Regions from separate parts of the Homo sapiens genome. Here regions 1, 2 and 4 are each linked to region 3. Evidence: promoter capture Hi-C in 16 types of primary human blood cells and fetal thymus (Javierre and others, 2016). All regions are on one chromosome and are shown on one strand. Each heading gives the region's core, a stretch centred on a gene start or on the middle of the fragment in contact. The rest is flanking DNA. Distances are from core to core; before and after follow the strand shown. Region 1 has its middle 160 kb from the start of BMP7-AS1. Region 2 overlaps SPO11 (SPO11 initiator of meiotic double strand breaks). Region 3 holds the start of FAM209B (family with sequence similarity 209 member B). Region 4 overlaps LOC105372687 (a long non-coding RNA gene).

Evidence for each region. Contacts are between HindIII fragments. The CHiCAGO score rates a contact against its expected background, and 5 or more counts as called.
Region 1: a contact is called between a fragment that was not itself captured here and the fragment with the promoter of FAM209B in region 3, in 1 of 17 cell types (M0 macrophages). The highest score is 6.1, in M0 macrophages.
Region 2: a contact is called between a fragment that was not itself captured here and the fragment with the promoter of FAM209B in region 3, in 1 of 17 cell types (endothelial precursors). The highest score is 5.7, in endothelial precursors.
Region 4: a fragment that was not itself captured here is called in contact with the fragment with the promoter of FAM209B in region 3 in 1 of 17 cell types (erythroblasts); the score reaches 5.5 in erythroblasts.

What each region holds. Positions count from the first base shown.
Region 1 is chr20:57,046,869-57,052,461 of GRCh38, reverse strand. No RefSeq gene overlaps it. Among named protein-coding and RNA genes, the nearest start is that of BMP7-AS1, 160 kb to the left of the region's middle. The HindIII fragment of the contact is 7,563 bases long and covers 351-5,593 here.
Region 2 is chr20:57,342,414-57,348,493 of GRCh38, reverse strand. It overlaps SPO11 (SPO11 initiator of meiotic double strand breaks), which reads right to left. Exons shown (of 13, transcript NM_012444.3): 12 at 5,654-5,765; 13 at 4,501-5,153. The coding sequence ends at 5,034. Among named protein-coding and RNA genes, the nearest start is that of RAE1, 5.8 kb to the left of the region's middle. The HindIII fragment of the contact is 4,748 bases long and covers 365-5,112 here.
Region 3 is chr20:56,529,328-56,535,542 of GRCh38, reverse strand. FAM209B (family with sequence similarity 209 member B) reads right to left here and starts at 2,297. Exons shown (of 2, transcript NM_001013646.4): 1 at 1,953-2,297. The coding sequence starts at 2,201. It also overlaps a transcript of FAM209A not described here. The HindIII fragment of the contact is 5,101 bases long and covers 1-4,285 here.
Region 4 is chr20:57,321,405-57,327,150 of GRCh38, reverse strand. All of the region lies in intron 2 of LOC105372687 (a long non-coding RNA gene), which reads left to right. It overlaps MIR4325 (microRNA 4325), which reads left to right and starts at 5,560; the gene lies at 5,560-5,649. RefSeq lists enhancers at 1-312, 313-816. The HindIII fragment of the contact is 4,013 bases long and covers 523-4,535 here.

The DNA of each region.
Region 1 (5,593 bases), core at 2,883-5,382, 520 kb before region 3:
TTAAGATTGAATTTTTCATTTGAAAATTGAAAATTTCATTTCTAATTTTTCTTGGAATATTTAGACACAGAAAAGAAACTTTTCCCTAGTCCCTACACCAGTGCGCAACAATAGAAGTTTCTGTGATGATGGAAGTGAAGAGGCCTCCATACCTGCTCTATGCAAATGGCAGCCAGTGGCCACATGTGGTCTCTGAGTTCTTGAAAGTGGGTAGTGTGACGGAGGAGCTAAATTTTAAATTTCATTTAATTTTTATTAGTTTAAATAGCCCTACGTGGCTCATGGCAGCCATATTGGATAGATCAGCACTAGCTTCTTCTCTGTAGATTATCGGAATTTCTTTTTAAGCTTCTAGGGGAGAATTCACTGCCCTTCATCTTGACCTCTCCATTTCTAAACCTAAATATTGCCTCAATCCCTCAAGCTGCCTCAAGTCCAGGTTTGAGTTTCAGTCCCCTGCCTTCCAGTTGACACTGGGGGCACCTTCTTCGTCCTATTGAGTCTTGGGAGTTCCCTCTGTACACAGCCTCTCAGGGCTGTCCTCCAAATTGCATTAAATGGCATGCCATATGCAAATGACACTCAACAAATAATAGTTGTTCGGTGAAGAGTAGCTCCTTCCCTGGCCTGATTTAGCCTTATTTGCCCTCATAGCTCATCTCTTCTTCCACAGTTTCAGCTCCTGGAGAGCAGATTCCTGATTCTGCAATCATGTGTCACATAAAGATGTTTCAGTCAATGACAGATTACATATATGATGGGCTGCATATACTGTATAAGATGGAGTCCCATAAGATTATAATGGAGCTGAAAATTTCCTATTGCCTAGTGACAGTGTAGCTGCCATGATGTCATAGTGCAATGCATTCCATTTTCTATGTTTAGTTATGTTTCAGTACACAAGTACTCACCATTGTGTTACAGTTGTCTACAGTGTTCAGTATAGTAACATTCTGTACAGGTTTGTGTCCTGGGAGCAGTAGGCCGTACCAGGTAGCCTAGGTGTGTGGTAAGCTATACCTTCTATATACCATTTAAGTTCATGTGAGTACATGCTACAGAGTTCACAGAGCGACAAAATCACCTAAGGATTCTGTTTTCAGAATGCATCTGCATCGTTAGGCAATGCATGATTGTACTTTGAACCTGGCCCGGTGCTCAGAGCTGTGCAGGAATTGGAAAGGCAAGTGACTCAAATAGTTTCCAACACAATCAGTCACCATGTCCTGGTATGATCTCCATAGCAGTGAGCCCAGCAGTTAGATGTGGGACTGGGGAGTCAGTCAGGATTACCTTTCAACTGGTTCTCAAATTCAGGAACAGTGCCTCTAACCAGGTGGCCCCAGCACAGTCCCTGTGTTGCTACTGGGGAACTGTGCAAAGTGTGTCATGGTTTTGTCCTGGTTGGACCCCATAAACACTCGAAGGCAACCAGACTGACTTTGAAAGCAGAAGGTCCTAGTTTTTTGGGGTCCAGCCCAAAACATTAGCCTTGGGGCCATGTTTTCTTTTTTCATTTTATTTATTTTAAGAGATAAAATCTTGCTCTGTCATGCAGGCTGGAGTACCAGTGATCACTGCTCACAGCAGCCTCTAACTCCTAGGCTCAAGCTATCCTCCCACCTCAGCCTCTTGAGTAACTGGGACTGCAGGTGTGTACCACCATGCCTGGATAAGGGGCCATGTTTTGTTCCAACACAGGCATTCTGATCTTGTCCTTTTAATGGAAAGGCCATCAGAAGTTTGGGATATGGATTCCGTAGGAATGAAGTTTAAAACACAAAATGACTCCAGCTAACATGTGTTCAAGGGCTTACTAAGTGCCAGGCTTTGTACTAAGTGCTTAATATGAAGTATGTTCGGACACCATCAAAACAATGTTATGAAAGGCAGTCTTCCTCCCTTATCTGTGGGGGATGCTTTCCAAGACCCCCCAGTGGATGCCTAAAGTCACAGATAGTACCAAACCCTATGTACGTTTTTTCCTGTACAGTAAAGGGCAGATAGTGTGGCCAATGTGGACACCCTGGACCAAGGGAGTACTCACATCCCGGTGGGACAGAGCAGGATGGCTCAGGATTTCATCACACTACTCGGAACAGTATACGATTTAAAACGTACAAATTGTTTCTTTCTGGAATTTTCTAGTTTCAGAATATTTTTGGACCGCAGTTGACTGCAGGTAGCAGAAACCTAGGAAAACGAAACTGCCAATGGGGGACCACTGTATTCCTATTATCATGCCTGTTTTGCACAGGGAGAAACCGAGGCTCCCAGAGGTTAAAAAGCTGCCCAAGATCACACAGGTAAGCAAGTGGCTGAGTCAGGGCTCCGACCCGGGCCATGAAGCCCCATCTCAGCTGCTGTGGATATTGCCTGCTGCAAGCTCACTGTGTCAGCACCCACCAAAGATATACGCCGTGGAAGGGCCCAGTGAGAAAGCAGTGACCATGTTTTGGATTTCTCTCCAGGTAAATATTTTTTCAAACAGGCCTTCCATGTGGAAAGGAATCACCAGATCAAATACAGAATAGCCAGTTAAATTGGGTGTTTAGATAAACAATGAATAACTTTTTTTACTGTAAGTATGCCCTGACTTGCTTGTGCTGAGAAGAAGAGTTACTCATTGTTTATCTGCAGTTCAAATTGACCTGGACATCTTATATTTTATCTGCTCTGTCTCTGGCCACGCTGCTGGGCAGGCTTGACCACACACATCTGCGGAACTCTGGGTCTCCGCCGTACGAGTGGCATAGACGCCATCCTCAATGCAGATCCCCATCAAACCTGGAAAAAATAAAATAAGGCCTCCCAGGTAACTGTGAGACCTATAGGTGCTTGTTAGTTTCCTAAGCTGCTCAAGCTGCCGTGCTCTGACAGCTGTACTTGTGCTTTGCGGCGTAATTTACAGGCCCGCTGGAGGGGATGGCAGGGTGGGACCCTGCTCCTCTTATTTGCTGCCAAGATTTGGGGCTACCAGTTGCTCTTGTCAATCTTTGGCTTAATTATTTAGCAGTTGTAAAGGACTCATTAAAAACGCCCAAGTTTATTGGAAACACCTCCCGCCGCTCGGAGGCAGGCCAAATCGGGAGCCCGTGTACCCACATGTTCAGGTTGAGCCCAACAAAATTGCTGACTTTAATTACACTACTTGGTCTAGAAGGTGGTGAGAGTGGGGGGTGGGGGGAGGCATGGATGATGAGTGGGAAGCGAAGCGGAGGAGCGGCCCTGGAATCTCAGGGACAGGTCTTCAGAGGGTGCGATGCTGTGTGCTGACCCCATCCCAAACCCCCACCCCACTGGTTTCAGGCTCAGGCCAGCCCCTGTCGCGCCCCAGAGGTGGGCCTGCCCCTCTCCAGACCTCCAGGCTCTTCCTGCCTCCCTCATGCCTCTGGTGGGCCTGGTGAGTGTGGCTGTTCTCTTTTGTCTGAGTACTCATTGCCTGGATTTTATTACTTGAATAAATATCAAAACAAAGAAGAAAATCCTTCAACCAGCTCTGTCTTCATTTTCCACACATCCTTCCAGCCACGGGTTCCAGCCACAGGTTCATCCCCCAAGCTCCTCCAGAGGGGGTGTGTGGGAGCCCATGGAGGTGCTGGCCATGATCTCCCTGATGGCCCAGGTGACACACAGTGATGGAGCCCCTCTCCAGGCAAGGAGGCACCTTGGAGAGCAGGCTACCTTTTCAGAGTTCCCACCCCAGCTGTGCCTGTCTGGGCCCCTATTGTTGAATGAATGGAGATGTTACTCCCAATTTTGTCTTTCAATCATAATACTAGCCTCCTTTGTGAACCTTTTTTTTTTTTTTCAGTATGTGCCTATTTCTTTAGGCTGGCGCCCCAGGTTGGAATTACTGGGTGAAGATGAAATCACAGGTGGGGACTCTGATCCTTTATCACCTCTCCTGGGCCACCACCCTCTCACCTGGGCGTTCCATCGGCCTCCTCCCTGGGCTCCCTGCTGCCCTCCTGGCCTCTGGGCTGCCCATTCTCAACTTGGCAGCCAGGGGGTGCTGCTGCAACCAAAGTGTGATCTTAATGCTCCAGCCCCTGCAATGGATTCCTCCCCTCTCAGGGTGACAGCAAGGTCATCGCAGTGACTTATAAGCGGAGCAGAGCCAAGCCCTAGAGCAGAATTTCTCAACTACTGCACTTTTGACATTGGGCTGGGCCGTTCTCTGAGCAGGGGCTGCCCTGGGCATTGCAGGGTGTTTAGCAGTATCCCTGGCCCCCACCCACTCGATGGCAAGTAGTACTCCCCAAATTATGACAATGGAAAAATGTCTCCAGATGTCGCCAGATGTCCCCTGAGAACCGCAGGTGACGAGAGCCTCTGACTTCCCCTCCTCCCCTCCCTCCGGCACTTCGCTGTGGCCACGCTGGCGGTCTTGCTGTTTCTTAAGCCCTCAGCAGCTTTGCACTGGCTGTTCCTTCTCCCGGATGAGCCCTTCCCCAGATACCTGCCTGGCTCAGGCGTTGCCTTTTTAATGTCGTGACTCAAATGTCCCCTTCTCATTGAGGCCTGCCTGGACTCCCTCTTTAGAATAGCACCGGGCCCCCGTGACTTTATCAGGCTTTGTTTCCAACAAACTTGTCACCAGACACACTGTATTTTTATTTACTTATTAAGTAACTGGAACGCTGTCTCTGTCTCTCTGCCGGGATGTAATATCCAGAAGGGCAGGGATTTTTGTCTGTTTTCCTTGCTGCTGTGGCACCGGTGCCTGTCCCAGCACAGTACCTGGCCCCTAGCCAGGGCTCACTGAACGTCGCTTGAGGAAGAAACAAGGGATGACCTTTGATGCCAGAGTCAGAAACACGGTTTTTGGTGCCGCATGTCCGCCCCTCTCTGTGGACAGGGGGAGGCGGTGGGGAAGGCCCAGGTCTCCCAGAGCAACTGGTTTTGCTCCCTGAGGGGCTTGCTGGCCTCCTGGGGTGGAGGTGTCACCAGGGGCAGGATTCCTGCTGAGCAAGTGAAACACCCGCTGCAGGCAGCAGAGGGTGCAGCTGAGAGTTGGTCACGATTGCACTTCCGACTTTGGAGACCCAGAACCACTCCAGCGGAGGCCCTGGGGGAGCCCCTTCCCTTTTGGAGGAAGGAAAGGGAGACCTCTGTTTGCTGGCTGAGTCGGGGTGTGAAGCAGGTTGGGCAGGATGAGGAGGCCGAATTGGGAAGGAGGGGGAGGTGGGGGCTGGATTTAAATGGGGCCAGGCCTGAATTTCATCTCAGCAACTGCTCCGTAGGCCCCAGCTTTAAGAGGGGGTTCGCCCTCCACCCGCACATCCAAGACTCGTTGGAGCACTGGGGTGTGGTCTCCGGACAGTTCACAGGGATCTGCATTCCTGAGGCTGGGGGTGGTCAACGGATGGTCAAGATGAGCATGTCCCAATCAATGGAGGGCCTCCTTCCCCCTCCATGCAGGGTCTCTGTGCAGGGCGCTCGCCCAGGGCTTTGTCTGGGTCCTCTCCAGTTACCCACTCCAGAGGGGTCTCTGTGATGCGTCCTCGGCCACCCACCAGCATCACTAGTCCACAGGAGAGCATGTGAGGAGGGGAACCCCCGCCTGCACCCTGTGCCTGATGGCTCATTT
Region 2 (6,080 bases), core at 1,489-3,988, 810 kb before region 3:
CTGCTCCGAGTGCGGGGCCCGCCAAGCCCACGCCCACCCGGAACTCCAGCTGGCCCGCAAGCGCCGCGCGCAGCCCCGGTTCCCGCTCGCGCCTCTCCCTCCACCCCTCCCTGCAAGCTGAGGGAGCGGGCTTCGGCCTTGGCCAGCCCAGAAACGGGGTCCCACAGTGCAGCGGTGGGCTGAAGGGCTCCTCAAGTGCCGCCAAAGTGGGAGCCCAGGCAGAGGATGCCCCGAGAGCGAGCGAGGGCTGTGAGGACTGCCAGCACGCTGTCATCTCTCAATGTGACTTACCAGAGCTCACACAACTGATACAGAGTAGGTCCATGATGTCTGTCCTGTGCCTGACCCTCCTACCAGCAAAGCTTTGGACTCATCTCTGAGAAGTGCTTCAACTACATTTTCTTATCCTTTTTCAATGGAACTCCTCTTACTATCTTTCCTTTAAACTCTCAAAAGCCCTCCCAAAGCTCTCTCAGGGTTTCGAGGCATATTCTGCCTCATTAAATAGTGTATTTGTCTTGTCTAGATTCCTAGATTTAAAACTTGTATCTACTTCCATGTATATGCTTTGCAGCACCAAGCAGAGTATCTTACATGTGTTCGTTATTAATACTTGTTGCATTTTATGTTTCAACGCCCAATGTATCTTCCAGAAGCCTCTATTATGATACAGATTCCTCTATAATCCTGGTTATTCAGCATGCTCTATAAACTCTTCCCGCTGTTTAGGATTATGTAGTTGACAAACTGCTTTTGCATATACCATCAGTGGAACCACTGAGGAGCAGTATGCTCGCCCAAATATTATAGCTGATATTCCAAGACTCTTGTTAAATGGATAATCTCATTTAATCCTCACCATGACCCTACCAAGTCATTATTATTGTTGTTATGCCCATTTTATGGTTGATGAAACTGAGATCAGGTTGTAACTTGTCCCAGCCATAGAGGCAAGGAGTAGACGTAGAATTGGAATGCAAGCAGCCTGCCCCAAAACCTAACTCTACACTTCCACAGGTGGCAGATTATGCTGATTTATGTTTTGCCTCCTAGAAACAAAAAGGGAGAACGGTATTTTATTTTATTTTTTTTTGAGATGGACTCTCGCCCTGTCGCCCAGGCTGGAGTGAGTGCAGTGGCGCGACCTCGGCTCGGTGTAACCTCTGCCTCTAGGGCTCAAGCGATTATCCTGCCTCAGCCTCTCCAGTAACTGGGATTACGGGTGCACACCACCATGCCTGGCTAATTTTTGTATCTTTCGTAGAGACGGGGTTTCACTATGTTGGTCAGGCTGGTCTTGAACTCCTGACCTTGTGATCCGCCCACCTTGGCCTCCCAAAGTGCTGGGATTACAGGCGTGAGCTACCGTGCTCTGCGAGATCAGTAAGATTTTATCCCTGGGTATGATTGTATGATTATTGAGCCATACAATATAGGTGAAAAATAATTAAACAATAGAAAAATAATTAAATTTTGGTAGTGACTGTCATTCAAACTGGTAAACTTTTCTGCCATTTTTACACAGGGAATATTTATGAATAAGTACAGTTTCTATTAATTGCTAGATGAATAGAAACTGAACATGCCTATATTCTTAGCATGAGTTACTTTTCATTTTGAATTTTTAATAAAAGAGATGTAATATGTTGGCTTAAAGTTTTGTGAATAGCTAGGTTGCAAAGAAGCACACATTAAGTGTAGCTTTACAGGGAATTGGGGCATCCAAAGCTGATTAACAAAGCGGATTCCTGTTGAGTGTATCACATAGAAACCCTCTTGGTTTTCCCCAAACTCTTTTGTTGTGACTCAAGACTCTACCCCATTCCTTTAGACAATGACTTGAAAACATTTCAAAGAAATTTCCACCCAAAATAGTGGAAGGAGTTGAGAGAATAATGAGCGTTTGCCAGCAGAGGGCGACCTTGGCTTGTTTCTACAGGATTGTTTCCTTGGGATACCTATCTGTGTAACAGTGAACAGAGAAGTTCATTTAGCAAACAGAAGTGCACGTTTCTCAATATTTCACTACAAAAACATTTCATTGAAAATCTTTTAATGTACATGTATATATAGCTTAGAGAATATGTTCTTTTCAGCACCACTGAACAGATTATCTACATCAAACTAGCAGCTCAACTGAGACACTCAGTAAGGAAGTCATAGATGGAAACCCTGGAGGGTTTTCCTTATTTTTATAAAGTGCACTATGGTTTTTCTTCCCTATGAACTCATAACTTCTGAAATCACTTAGTATCACCAATTATTATAATCAAATTTCTCAGAAAACGGGGGATACTACAAGCAACTTTTAGTTTGTTAGGGTAATTATGAACCCTTAAGGGAAAACTAAGAGTCTCTGAGCACCTTTTTGTTGTACTAGTTTTTGTTGTTATTGTTGTTTGAAACAAGGTCTCACTCTGTCACCCAGGCCTGAGTGCAGTGGTGCAATCATAGCTCACTGCAGCATTGAACTCCTGGTTTCAAGTGATCCTTCCACCTCAACCTCCCTAGTAGATGAGCCTATGGACATGTGCCACCATAACCAACTAATTTTTAAAAATTGAGATGGGAGTCCCATTATTTTGCTCAGGCTGGTCTTGAACTCCTGGGTTCAAGCAATCCTCCTCCTCAGTCTCCCAAAGCTCTGGGATTACAGGTGTGAGCCACCGTGCCCAGCCTTGTTGTATTAGTTTTTATACATTTTAATTTTAAAGATTCCAATCTAATGTTTTCTTGATTAAAATTATGGAAATATCCAAATTAGATACAGTTAGATGATGGTAGATGAGATTATTGTTATCAGTTACCATTTTAAATGCTAAGTATTATGGTAATCCTTTTTAGAAAGAAATCTTTAGAATTAGAATTCTAGATGGTTCCCAAATAGCTACTAGCATTAATTTTTCATTTTCATCTAATAAAGATAGGTAGTAACGTCAAACTATAGTGTATTTTGCTCTCTTTCCATTTTCATTTCCCAAATAATTGAAAATTATTTTAAGTAAATTTGCAATAATAAACTTGAGATGACTTAATTATCCAAACTGGAGGTATCTGTCTTTTTCAAATTTATTTTTAAATTTGAATGACTATCGTAGATTTGTCACTCCTTCCCATTTTGATAGTATATCCTAAGCCAGATGTGTCGTGGGTTAAACATATTTTTAAGTTAGTAATTTCTTCCTTTACAAAGCATACCAAAGTTAAGTGACACTGTTACATGTTAAAGGAGTAAGTATGGTATAAATTCAGAGGAAATTTTTTCTTATTTATAAAAATGTTTTTAGAATTTTTGATAGTCTCACGAGTAAGTAAAATTAACAGCATACCAGAATGTTCCCAAAATGAAATGTGTGGTTCCTATGTGACCAGGGAATATAACATATTTGTTAATTGTAGGTATGGTATCGGGGGATCTTGATTTGACACTAGCCAACAATAAGACTTGCAGACCTTTCCATGCAGTGAGGACACAGACCACACGTGAAGTACTTTACCTGTACTAGCGCCATGGTACCCACACTTTCTGGTTTGAAGTCCCAGCTCCACTGCTTATTAGTTATGTGACCTTGGGAAAATTATTTAACCTTTCTGTACCTTTGTTTTCTCACCTGTAAAATGGGGGTGATTTTTTAAAAGTACCTAGCTCATAAGGTTTCTGTGAAGATGCAATGAGTTATTGTTTACAAAGCACCTACAAAAATACCTAGCACATAGTAAGTGCTATGTATGTATTTTCCTTTATTATTATATTACCTTCTTCAATCCTTACTACATACAACCTCTTGGGCAGGCCCAGCCTCACAGGTGTACCACCCGTGCAGTCACCCAGGACCCCAGGCTAAGAAGGGCCTGTGCTTGGTTTAATTCTCTGCTGCTATCATCTTGAAATTCTTAATAAAAAGGGATCCCACATTTACATTTTGCATTGAGACCCACATTTTCTTGAGGTAGGTAGTATTATTGTCCCCTGGTATTATTGTGGCTTTGGACAAATAGCATCCTCAGTGTTCTCACCTGAAAACTATGGTGTAGTTACCCAGTAATTACAAGGTCCTTGGGGGAATTAAATGAGATACTGAATCAGCAGTGATTGGCACATGTAAGTTCTCAGAAATGGTATATATTATTATTATTGTTACCATTTCTCTTTATAAAATAGCTAACCTAATATTACCGTGCTTCTATAAATTCTTATTCTTGCTTGCAAGCACAAGAAACTTTCAGTGCAGTTAAAGGTTTACTGAAAGTACAGAATAAAATCATAAAACTGACCTCTGGCAAAATTAAGATAGGTTTATGGAGGGAAAAGGTCACATATTTACTGTTGGAGAAGTACCTTATTAAAATCTGAGGCTTCTGTAGATCTTAAAACTGAAGAAGTTTTTTGTTCTATAGACAGACTAGAGAAGCATTCAAGACCTTCGAGAAACTTTTCAAATAAATAATATTATCAATAAAAAATAGGCTCAATACAAAATAAAGCAAAACACTGAAGACTACATCAATCCAAATATTTATTCATACTGAATTTTACTAATGTAACAAATGAATTAATGGAGTAAGACCCCTAAAGTATAAAGGCAAAGGAAAATGTAAGAAGAAACTACCGGACACCACAATTCATTTGCAACATCTCAAATTCAGATCATTATGATTTTTGTTACCAGTAAGATACTTTATGCGTTAACATTAGTTGTATCGTAGAAGGTAAATATTTTGTAGACTTTGATGACATGTATAAAATATTATTTTTTCAAAAATAATTTAAAGGTCAAAATAACATATTCTTTTATAATTTGCTTTAGAAGATAGGACAGAAATCTGTCTCTATAGAGGCAAGAATAAGGCCTTGCAAAGAAAATTGGAGTACAGCATTTGTTTTGACAAAAATATATAATTAACGGAAAGTTATTTTATTTCACTTTTACAGAATTAAGAATATAATATATGTTCTTTCCACAATAGTATTTGCCAATCAAAACAAAACTAATGAAAAGCCTCTGGCAATCAGAAGTTCTTCTGATTTATTTTTATATCCATCCTCCAAATTTTAATTTGTTAGGTAAGTACACTCTGGAAAGATAATCTGATGATAGGAAAGTCAAAGCTTGAATTTCTGCCTTCATTTTAGAGTCTGCCATTATTTCCATCTGTCAATAAAAGTAAAATGTACTCATACCAGAGTTCTTAGTTGCATTTCTGTCAATTCAACAAACTAGTAATCTAGAATTGCTTTATTCTCCAAAACCAGGGACAATAGTCTTAAGGGTCAGCCAGAATATTCCAGAGCTGCTACAGCTAAAAATATCTGGAGTGAGAGTACTCTGTATGCTGTCTTCAATAATTAGGGATAGTCTGAAATCTTTATGATTTCTTCTTCCTTTTTTTAATCCCACAAACTATGATACAGCCATCAAGAATGTGTATATAACCATGATAAGGATACAAACAGGCCAGCTCCATTCACTGATCTCATCTATTAGCATTCATATGACTCAATTTCAACAACTATTTACTGCCAAACAACACTTATGTTAGTCGTGTCATATAAAATTTCAAGAGGGATATTTTCAAAATACGATGTGAATAGCCACTACTAAAGTAAAAGACAATTAAACATGCAACACTTGAGTTGTAAAAGGAAACATACTTCTTTTCTCCAAAATGGTTGGCAGGTAACATAAGGTCTCCTCAGGATACTGTCAAGTTTCATTTGGTCCCTTTTTGTCAGTGGAATCAAACTATCTTTAGGTACATTTAATCTGGAAAAAAGTAGGTGAAAAAAATCAGTAAAAAAGTGTTTCTGTAACTTGAATGTCCTGTATTTTGCCTGTATTTATGGTACTACTTCAAGAAACTCAGAAATAAGAAAATTAGTACAGATCTACCTCTTACATCCAGGATTGAAGGGATCTGTCATGTCTTAGACCAGCAAGTTTTCAAGTTCATAGTGGAAGTTTGTGTTTCCACAGTAAGATTCTAAAGTTTTTGTTTTCCTTCATGTCACACTCGTGGGATGATGACAGGATGACAGGAAGACTGATATTGGTTATTAAACAAATGCCAATAGCACTACC
Region 3 (6,215 bases), core at 1,048-3,547:
CTCGGTTCACTGCAACCTCTGCCTCCCAGGTTCCAGCTATTCTCCTGCCTCAGCCTCCCGAGTAGCTGGGATTACAGGCACCCGCCATCATGCCCGGCTAATTTTTGTATTTTTGTAGAGACAGGGTTTTATCATGTTGGCCAGGCTGGTCTCGAACTCCTGACCTCAGGTGATCCACCCGCCTCGGCTTCCCAAATTGCTGGGATTACAGGCATGAGCCACCACCCCCGGCCGGGGTTCAAGCAACTCTTATGCCTCAGCCTCCCAAGTAGCTGGGACCACAGGTGCCCACCACCATACCAGCTAATTTTTTTTTTTTTTGAGACAGAGTCTCACTTTGTCGCCCAGGCTGGCGTGCAGTGGCACGATCTCAGCTCACTGCAACCTCTGCCTCCCAGGTTCAAGTGATTCTCCTGCCTCAGTCTCCCGAGTAGCTGGGATTACAGGGGTGTGCCACCACACCTGGCTAATTTCTGTATTTTTTTTTTTTTTTGAGACAGAGTTTTGCTCTTGTTGCCCAGGCTGGAGGGCAATGGCGCAGTTTCGGCTCACTGCAACCTCCACCTCCCGGGTTCAAGCGATTCTCCTGCCTCAGCCTCCCGAGTAGCTGGGATTACAGGCATGCGCCACTACGCCTAATTTTGTATTTTTAGTAGAGACGGGCTTTCTCCATGTTGGTCAGGCTGGTCTCAACTTCCTGACCTCAGATGATCCGTCCGCCTCGGCCTCCCAAAGTGCTGGGATTACAGGCATGAGCCACTGGGCCCAGCTTTTTTTTTTTTTTTTTTTTTTTTTGAGACAGAGTCTCACTCTGTCACCTGGGCTGGAGTGCAGTGGCTCCATCTCGGCTCACTACCACCTCTGCCTCCAGGGTTCAAGTGATTCTCCTGCCTCAGCCTCCCGAGTAGCTGGGATTACAGGCGCCCGCCACTACGCCCAGCTAGGTTTTGTATTTTTAGTAGAGACAGGGTTTCACCATGTTGCCCAGCTGGTCTCGAACTCCTGACCTCGTGATTCACCCGCCTCAGCCTCCCAAAGTGCTAGGATTACAGGGGTGAGCCACCGCGCCTGGCCTAATTTCTGTATTTTTAGTAAAGACGAGGTTTCACCATGTTGGCCAGGCTGGTCTCAATCTCCTGACCTCAAGTGATCTGCCCGTCTCGGCCTCCCAAAGTTCTGGGATTACAGGCATGAGCCACTGTGCCCGGCCTACACCTTTATCTCCTTACAGAAGTTTCATATTTTGTTGGGATGATATCATTTCCATTTAGCTCAGGAATTTTCAGTAAGTCAAGCACTAGGAAAAATGTAAAAAGCAAGGGAACAGTGAATTTGGCCCTGTGAATAATATAATTTTGACCTTCTAAAACACACCATAAGTTCTTTATTTTGAGACAGAGTCTCAGTCGCCCATGCAGGAGTGCAGTAGTGTGATCTCAGCTCACCACAACCTCTGCCTCCAGGGTTCAAGCCATTCTTCTGCCTCAGCCTCCCGAGTAGCTGGGATTACAGACACACGCCGCCATGCCCAGCTAATTTTTGTATTTTTAGTAGAGATGGGGTTTCACCGTGTTGGCCAGGCTGTTCTCAAACTCCCGACCTCAGGCAATCCACCTGCCCTGGCCTCCCAAAGTGATGGGATTACAGCATGAACCACTGCGCCCGGCTGAGTTCTTGAATCTATCCTACATTTGAAAAAATCCATCTAACCAGAAGAACTTTGAGCCAAGAAACTAGAGGTCATCTTCCACTGTTTGTCCCAATATCTGTGGATGTGGGGACTATTGTCTTCACTAAGGATACATCAGGAAGTGAATTTGCCAGCTTTGCCCAGGACCATGAGGTCGGTTCATTATACCCAACGGTGCCGCCTAGACTCACTAGAACATCCGTTTCCCTGAGACTCCTGAGATTGAATCAATATGGTGTAAAAAAAATGGAGCCATCCTTACCTTATTCTTCTCACTGTCTCTTTGACACTGCAGTATCACAAACGGCACAACAGCAAACAAAAGCCAGAGCCATTTGCTCCCAAGCCAGCCTTGGGTGTGCTCTGGTAGGTTCTGCCGAATCCGAAAGTGCTCTCCACACGGCACCTTCCCCTGGGGTTCGCTAGTTTTCTGTCTCAGAGAAGAGAACATAAAGGCATAGCTGCAGGTGAGGCACAGAAGCAGGACCAGGGACGATTTCAGCGTCCACATGGTGAGCAGAGATGGGGAAGGGAGTTGCTCATGACGGGTTTGCTTGCCCTCGCAACTGGAAGACTGGGCACCTGGTGCCAGGCCCTTGGTGATGTCACAGAGGCCCTGAGCTGAGGCCACCCTGGCCATTGTGATGATTTCAGGACAGAGGTTACAGGTCACAGGAGTCGCCCGGGAGGAGGACTCAAAGGGAGATGGGGGCATTTCCAGCAGGCAGTCAGAGAGAGAGGATAGGCACGACGGGGTGCCAATTCCCTGCCAGGGGACTCTTTCCAACCCTCGAGCTTTTGCTGGTAGAGGCCGTCATGTTTCTGTTTTTCATTTGTTTGATCCAAACACTATGATGAGCAGAGGGAGATGCCATGTGCCCCGTGGAGCTGAGTTAAATGGGAGAGAAAGATATTAAACCACAGGCTACCTACAAACTCGGAGCCACCTATGTGTTTTGTTTGGCCTATGTTGTTTCTAAAAATTATTAGTCAGTACTTAAATGTTGTGGGGGGTGGGTATTTCACTTTAAAAGTCCAGGTTTCCGGCTTCCTTTGAAAATATGAGAGCGTGGCCGGGCGCGGCAGCTCACGCCTGTAATCCCAGCACTTTGGGAGGCTGAGGCGGGCAGATTACGAGGTCAAGAGATCGAGACCATCCTGTCCAACGTGGTGAAACCCCGTCTTTACTAAAAATACAAAAATTAGCTGGATGTGGTGGCACACGCCTGTAGTCTCAGCTACTTGGGAGGCTGAGACAGGAGAATCACTTGAACCCAGGAGGCAGAGGTTGTGATGAGCCGAGATCACGCCACTGCACTCCAGCCTGGCAACAGAGCAAGACTCTGTCTCAAAAAAAAAAAAAAAAAAAAAAGAAAAAGAAAAAGAAAGAAAAGAAAATATGAAGAGTTCTGGAAGCACTGGGCCCACACTGTCATAGAACCAGTCTTCTGCTAGAGCCAAGTGAAATCATCCATCCTGTGGCCATATTCCCTCCACAGTCCCCACCACTCCCTATTACCACATACCATCATTGACAGCAGCAGTGTGTGCCTGCCTTGGGTTAAGAGTATACTTTGGAGCCAGGCCTGGTGGCTCACACTTGTAATCCCAGCACTTTGGGAGGCCAAGGTAGGCAGATCACCCAAGGTCAGAAGTTTGAGACCAGCCTGGCCAACATGGTGAAACCCTATCTCTACTAAAAATACACAAATTAGCCAGGCATGGTGGCATGTGCCTGTAATCCCAGCTACTTGGGAGGCTGAGACGGGAGAATCACTTGAACCCAGGAAGTAGAGGTTACAGTGAGCTTAGATGGCGCCACTGCACTCCAGTCTGGGCAACAGAGCAGGGCTCAGTCTCAAAAAAAAAAAAAAAAAAGAAAAGAAAAGAAAAGAAAAGAAAAAAAGAGTATACATTGGGCCAGGCACAGGGGCAGGGGCTCACACCTGTAATCCCAGCACTTTGGGAGGCCAGGGTGGGCAGATCACCTGAGGTCAGGAGGAGTTCCAGACCAATCTGGCTAACATAGCGAGACCCCATCTCTACTAAAAATACAAAAATTAGCCAGGTGTGGCAATGCACGCCTGCAATCTCAGCTACTTGGGAGGCTGAGGCAGGAGAATCATTTGAACCTTGGAGGCAGAGGTTGCAGTGAGCTGAGATCAAGACACTCTACTCCAGCCTGGGTGACAGAGTGAGACTGTGTTTCAGAAAAGAAAAAAGAGTATAGTTCGATTAAAATTGTGGTAAGAGGCCGGGCACGGTGGCTCATGCCTGTAATCCCAGCACCTTGGGAGGGTGAGGTGGGTGGATCACCTAAGGTCGAGAGTTTGAGACCAGCCAAGCCAACATGGAGAAACCCCATCTCTACTAAAAATACAAAAAAATTAGCTGGGCATGGTGGTGCATGCCTGTAATCCCAGCTACTCGGGAGGCTGAGGCAGGAGAATTGCTTGAACCTGGGAGGCAGAGGTTGCGGTGAGCTGAGATTGTGCCATTGCACTCCAGCCTGGGCAACAAGAGCGAAACTCCATCTCAAAAAAAAAAAAAAAACAAAGAAAGAAGAAAAAACAATTGTGATAAGAACAGGAAGCTTTAGAGACGAGCACAAGGGGACTGCTCTATACTAGGTTATGCAGGAAGAGTGTCCAGAAAAAGATGGTTGAGTAGAGCAGGGGAGATGATTAGGAGTTGGTGGGTAAAATGGGAAGGGGCTGAATCCCCCAAGTGAGAAGGAACAGCTAGCTTGACAACTGAGGCCAAGGCTGGGAATGAACCTAGGACTCCACAGTATACCTGAAACCATGAGTTCTTTAAAATGACATGAAACAAGAAATCCTGGGTGCTGGAATGCACGGCTTGTACTTGTTCCCCTGGGTCATCTGTAGAGCTATCTTCCTGAGGAAGGCTCTGATTCGCAGATTTACTCCCGAGGAGCAGAACTTTATGCTGCATAGGAAATAATCAAGAGTCAGCTGGGCACCCTCGCTGTGCCTTAAATTGTACTGAGCTCTGTGGAGTGACAAAGAAGTTCTACAAGCTATGGCCAGGGGCAGTGGCTCATGCCTGTAATCCCAGCACTTTGGGAAGCCAATGTGAGCAGATCATCTGAGGTCAGGAGTTCGAGACCAGCCTGACCAACATGGTGAAACACTGTCGCCACTAAAAATACAAAAAAAAAAAAAAAAATTAGCTGAGTGTGGTGGTGCATGCCTGTAATCTTAGCTACTTGGGAGGCTGAGGCAGGAGAATCGCTTGAGCCCAGGAGTTGCGGCTGCAATGAGCTCAGATGATGCCATTGCACTATAACCTGGGCAACAGAGCAAGACTCTGTCTCTAAAAAAAAATGAATAAATTCTCCTGAGCAGTCTAGGGGAAAAAGAACAGAACACATGTGGTACATACCATAGTTGTTCAATGAATCCTTCTGTAAAATGATGTCTGATCTGGCCCTTATCAACCCAGCAAACCCAACTTCCTCCATTCCCACCTGCCCTGCCAGCGTCCTCTCTGCTCCTCCACATGACAAACTTGAGCAAACTCTTCCCTTTGTCCTGACATCTGCCTGGACCACTTTTCCAGAATCCTTTTCCTGCCTATGACTTTGTCCTCCATTCCTGCTCCTTGCCAAAATGGCATACAGTAGATACTCAGTATGTTGTTGAATGGATGGATGAGTGGGTGGGAGGGTGGATGGGTGGGTGGGTAGATGGATGGATGGGTTAGTGGGTGGGTGGATGGATGAATGGATGGATGGATGGGTGGATGGTTGGATGGATGGGTGTGTGGGTGGGTGGGTGGTTGAGTGGATTTTTGTTGTCGTTGTTGTTTTGAGACAGAGTCTTGCTGTGTCGCCCAGGCTGGAGTGCAGGGGCACTATGTCAGCTCACTGCAAGCTCTGCCTCCCAGGTTCAAGTGATTCTCACTCCTCAGCCTCCTGAGTAGCTGGGACTACAGGTGCATGCCATCACGCCTGCCTAATTTTCGTATTTGTATTTATTATTTGTTTATTTATTTATTCTTTTTTTGAGATGGAGTCTCTGTTGCCCAGGCTGGAGTGCAATGGCGTGATCTCGGCTCACTGCAACCTCCACCTCCTGGGTTCAAGAGATTCTCCTGCCTCAGCCTCCTGAGTAGCTGGGATTACAGGCACACGCCAACACACCCAACTAATTTTTGTACTTTTAGTAGAGATGAGGTTTCACCATGTTGGCCAGGCTGGTCTCAAATTCCTGACCTCAGATGATTCACCTGTCTCGGCCTCCCAAAATGCTGGGATTATAGGACTGAGCCATTGTGCCAGGCCTGTATTTTTATTTTTTAATTATTATTATTTTTGAGATGGAGTCTCACTCTGTCACCCACTGGAGTGCAATGGCACAATCTCAGCTCACTGCAGCCTCCGCCTCCAGGGTTCAAGCAATTCTCCTGCCTCAGCCTCCCAAGTAGCTGGGATTACAGGCACCCACCACCATGCTTCGCTAATTTTTGTATTTTTAGTAGAGACAGGGTTTCACCTTGTTGG
Region 4 (5,746 bases), core at 1,280-3,779, 790 kb before region 3:
ATTTCTGTCCACTTTTCCCTGTCCCCTGAGGACAGAGCCTTTGGTATCACTTAGCATTAGACTCAACCAGAAGCCAGCAGCCTTGCTAGACCTGACACAGAATGAAAGGTCCTGAGCTGGGTGGGGGCACAAGGAGAGGATCAGAACAGTGAAGTGAAGTGAGCAAACCCGTAATAAACCTGGCATTCCTAAGAGGAGAAACCGCAAAGTGCAAGGTGCGACTTGAAAGGACTTGGCTGGGGTTCCCACTGCGCTGACAAAAGCAGGAGGGGCAGCTCACCCTCCAGCAGCTAGGCTCTGCCTGTGCCCTGCAGGTATCCTGCTCCACGGCAGGACTCATAGGCCCTCCCCCAGCAGCTGTGTGCACCACCTTCACATCAAAGTCAACAGTCCCAGCCCCAGGCTGTGAGCAAGAACCAGAAAAACATATTCTGCTCCTAGCAACACATTGCAAATGAAACTGACAAATGCCAACTTGCAGGACAGTCTCAATACTGAGTTCTCCCTATGGGCCAGGAAGCTTCCCCGCAAACCCTACTAGCCGGTGTTTCCTCCAAACTCATACTCAGTCCCAGAAACACAGTAGAGGGCCAAAATCTTTGTGCAGGCTGGAAAGGAGTATTGTTTAAATTAGGTGCAAAGATCTGTTCCACCTCTAACACATCCAAAAAAGGGAAAGAAGGGAGGCAAGGATGGGGAGGCCCTTTCAACAAACCAGACAGGAGAGGATAGCATACTTCTTACATTTAAACAAGGTGGCTTATCTAGCAAATGTAAGTGAATTTTAACATTTTGTAGATTCATGGCAGGGCGCGGTGGCTCAGGCCTGTAATCCCGGCACTTTGGGAGGCCGAGGTGAGCAGATCACTTGAACTTAGGAGTTTGAGACCAGCCTGGGCAACATGGTGAAACCATGTCTCTACAAAAAATACAAAAATTAGCCAGGTGTGGTGGCCTGAGGTGGAAGGATCACTTGAGTCCTGGAGGCGGAGGTTAGAGTGAGCTGAGATTCACGCCACTGCTCTCCAGCCTGGGCCACAGAGCAGAACCTGTCTCAAAAAAAAAAAAAGAAAAAAGAAAAATATATGGTAGCTTCTTGTTAGACAAGAAGTAGAGAAAAGGCCATAATATTTTCTTTACTTCTTGAGGGTTTATAGCCATTTTTCCTTTGCATTTTTTAGCTTTCGAAAATTGTGAGACTGCTACATGCTTCTCATAAGATATTGACATAATTCAGAAGTGTGTGAGATGTGAGCGAAAGAGAAAGAGACCTCCCCGCTCCCCATCACTGCAGCTGCACTGGCTCCACCTTCTTGGGTCCTCCTTTTTTTTTTTCTTTCTTTTTTTTTTTTTTGAGATAGGATCTCCCTCTGTCACCCAAGCTAGAGTGCAGTGGCGCCATCAAAGCTCACTGCAGCCTTGACCTCCTGGGCTCAAGCAATCCTCCTGCCTCAGTCTCCCAATGTGTTCGAATTACAGGTGTGAGCCACTGCTTCTGGTCTGGTCTGCTCTTCTCGCTGCAACCTTTGCATCTTGGAATTGTTCCTTCCTGCTCTAAGGCCTTTGCACTTGCCTTTCCCTTAACAGCTTGGGACCCCTTGTCCTTTTTCTTTCCCTACTCCCCTCCCTTCCCCTCCCAAATCCAACCTGGCTAACTCTCCTGCAGCCTTCAGATCGCCCTCTGAACATCTTCCTGGGCTACACCCCTGTGTCTTGACTCCTGGTTACCATGTGCCCACAGCTCCACGTGGCACATGGAATGATTGAATGAGTGACTCCTCATGGGGTTACCTCTGTTACCTATTCCTTGTATTTTATCCCAGGCATTTTTCTATTCATGCCCAAATTAGCAACGTGTCCAGAGTAAGACTTCACTCTGCAGACTGGTATTGCTGCTTCTGGTAATAATAGGAACTAAGGTTCGCTGACGGTCAGACACTGGGCCCAGTGCTTCATGCATAAAATCTCATTTACCCCCTCCCATTTTACAGCAGAGAAAGTTGAGTACCAAGAAGTATAAAAATTGCTGGGTTTCATAGAGATGCAAGTGATAAGGTGCTGACAGGAAGGGTTTCTTTGATCTAAGCCGCTATACGATATTGCCTCAAAGTCAAGGCAACTTAGTATTGATGAATTAATTTGCTTGTTGTTGTAGCTAGTGATCATGTACCAGGATGTGTGATGTAAAGCAGATCATATCCTGGTGTGAATAAAATGAAATCTAATGTTAAGAAGATCACCAAAATATTTGCAAGCCTATGGGTCATCTTATTAACAAAAGCAGGATGTTCACTTATTTTTAGAGAGTGCTGTCATGCACTACCGTGGACCCAACACCAGCTTCCATGACTGTCAACTCATGGCCAACATTTTGTCACCCACATCCACCCCCTTACCTACCCTCACACCAGATTATTTTGAAACCAATCCCAAGAATCATATTATTTTATTAATAAGTGTTTCAGCATGTTTCTAAAAAAAAAAAGGACTCTTAAACACATTATAATTCCATTATCATACTAAAAGGTATGTTAACAATCATTCTTTATATCACCAAGTATTCTATCTGTTGAAATTGCCCCAATTGTTTCAGCAATTGTTTTCTTCTCATTTAAAAAAGTTATCTATTTTAATTGACAAATAAAAATTGTGTATATCTATCCTATACAACATGTTGTTTTGAAATCTGTATCCATATTTAGCTTGATTAGCTAAATCATGCTAATGAACATACACCTTAGCTCACATACTTATCATTTTTTTGTGGTGAGAACACACACAGGTAGTCCTAAAATGTACTCTCAGCGATTTTCAAGAATACAATAGCTTGTCATGAACTACCTAGGCACCATGTTGTACAGTAGATCTCTTGACCTTATTCAGCCTGTCTAACTGGAATTTTATATCTTTTGACCCCTATCTCCCCAGTCCCCTAGCCCCCACTCTGTTGCTTACCATGCTACTCCCACTTCTATGAGTTTGGCTTTTTTAGATTTCACATATAAGCGAGACCATGCGGCATTTGTTATGTTTGTTTAGTTTGTTTTCATCAAGATGCGAATAAGGTCCATCCACACATGGCTGTTGGTTGATATGACTCTTAAGTCTCCTAAATTCTATAGGTTCTTCTCCAGTTTTCTTTCCTTGCAATTTACTTGTTGAAGAAACTGAGTCATTAGTCCCAGAGAGTTTTGTGCAATTAGGAGTTTGGGGATTGCATCCCTGTGATATAATTTACTATGTTTTTCTGTTTCAGGTATTTCTTATAAATTGAGAGTTGAATTTGGAGGCTTAACTGTTTCTGGTTTGATTTTTTTTTCATAAAAATATTTCGTAGGTGGTTTGAAATATTTATTTTTTATTTTTAGGCAGAGTCCTGCTCTGTCGCCCAGGCTGGAGTGCAGTGGTGTGATCTCCAGCTCACTGCAACCTCCGCCTCCCGGGCTCAAGTGATTCTCCTGCCTCAGCTTCCTGAGTAGCTGAGATTACAGGTACCCACCACCATGCCCAGCTAATTTTTGTATTTTTAGTAGAGATGGGGTTTCGCCATGTTGGCCAGGCTGGTCTTGAACTCCTGACCTCAGGTGATCCGCCCACCTTGGCCTCCCAAAGTGCTAGGATTACAGGCATGAGCCACCGTGCCCGGCCTAGGTTTAAAATATTTAGAACCTCCATTGTAACCTTCCAGAACTCCTCTGGCTGGGGCTTCCAGGTTGAGAACTTCAGAGCTAGCCTCAATCTCAGCCTCTCATTCACTGAAGTAGCAGCCAAGCCCGGGAGGATAAGTCATGCTGAGCAAAATCTCTGCAGCCTGCAAAATCCCTTCACAGACTACAGACCCAGATGGAGAAAGCTGAGGAGGGCTTTAGAAAAAGCAGCTTCCCTCTGCTGCACTGAGTCGCCCTGGGGATTTGCAGGGGAGGTTCCCCGACCTGGTTCGCTTTCTGCTTGTTAGCACGCAGGGTGGCTTTGTGCCACAGCCCAGCCTGACTCATCCTCTCTGCTCTTTATTTCTTTCCTCCTCACACCCTCGCTGAGCTGCTAATTGCTCTCCTCCACCCTCCCCCTTGGTTGGAATCCTGAGGCCCTGACCTAGAGACACCCCATCACAAGTGTTTTCCAGCTAGCTCCAAAACCTCATCTCTGCTTTATTTGAAAATCAGTCAACATTAAACAGAGACTTGCTCTGATTTAAGGAGACTTTTAAAACTGAAGTAATTTTCCTTCTCTCCCTTCGCTTCTTCGTTTTCTTTTTTATTGTTTGTTTTCCATTTTTTAAGACTTCTTGGCAACTGGTTTTGGGAGAAAGAGGCACTTTTGCAAAGGACCAGAAGGCATGTCCAGTGTTCAAACCCAAGGCGATGAAACCCCAAAAGGTGTTTTCCTTTCCACATCTCTGTCTCTTCCACTCCTAGGCACACACCAGAAGGGCTGCCCAATTTACACATTGGCAGGCTTATGATTCATCCAACAAATGGTTTAAGCACCTTCATGGTTCCCAGGGCCCTTCTTAGTACTGGAGATTCAACCAAGCTTGGCATCACCAAGTTCCTGCACACACATTGCTGGGGAAGGCAGATTAAAAAAAAAAAAAGTCCAGGAACAGTGGCTCATGCCTGTAATCCCATCGTTTTGGGAGGCTGAGGCAGGAAGATCACTTGAGCCCAGGAGTTTGAGACCAGGCTGGGCAACACATTGAGACCCCATCTCTGCAAAACATTTTTTTAAAAAATTAGCTGGACATTGTGGCTCATGCCAGTAGTCCTAGCTACTTGGGAGGCTGAGGCAGGAGGATCACTGGAGCCCGGGAGGTTGAGGCTGCAGTGAGCTATGATCAAGTCACTGCATTCCAGCTTGGGTGACAGAAGGAGACCCCATGTCTAAAGAAAAACAAAGAAGGAAAAAAAATACACAATTTAAGTTCAATCACAGTGTGTTAGAGGGAAAAACAATCTGTGTGGTAGGAAAGTGGGTGACTGGGCAGGAAAGTGCAATGAAGGTGGGAGAGAGGAGGGCAGAAGAAACCTGTCTCAGGTGAGGGCCTTGGAGCTAAAGCCTTAGCTATGAAGAAGATCTGAGGGGACGAGCTCCAGGCAGAGGGAGCGAGGAGCTATGCAAAGGCCCTGCGGAGAGATTCACTGGGAGAACTTAAAGGGCAGAGAGCAGGCCAACGTTGATGGAGAGATGAGCGGGGACGTCTATCGGCCACAGTGAGGAAACAGGACTCTGTTCTAAGGCAGTGATTCCAGTGGGGGCGATTTTGCCCCTCAAAGGACATTTGGCAATGTTGGGAGACATTTTTGGTTGCCACCCATTTGGGGGCAGTTGCTCCTGGCATCTAGTGGGAAGGGGCCAGGGATGCTGCCTATGTCCTGCAAAGCACAGGACAGCCCCTACCACAGAGAACTCATCAGTCCCAGATATTGATAGTGCTGAGGTTGAGAAACGCTGGTCTAAGAGTGGTGGGAGGCCATCAGAGGGTCTGAAGCAAGGGAAGGATGTCGTGTGTGTTAAAAAAGGAGAGTGCAGTGTGGGGAGGGAGAGTGGAGGTAAGGAGATGGGGAAGATGTTGCACTTGTCTCAGTGAGAGATGCTTCTAGATCCAGGAGGCAGACCTCAAGGATGGAGAGAAGGCAGATCCTTTGAGATTGTTCCTATTCAAGTAAGCTATGGTCAAACCTGTTTTGGAAATGTTGTACACTGTACCAAGATAAGCAGTCTAGCGTGAATCCCAGAGCAAGGCTAT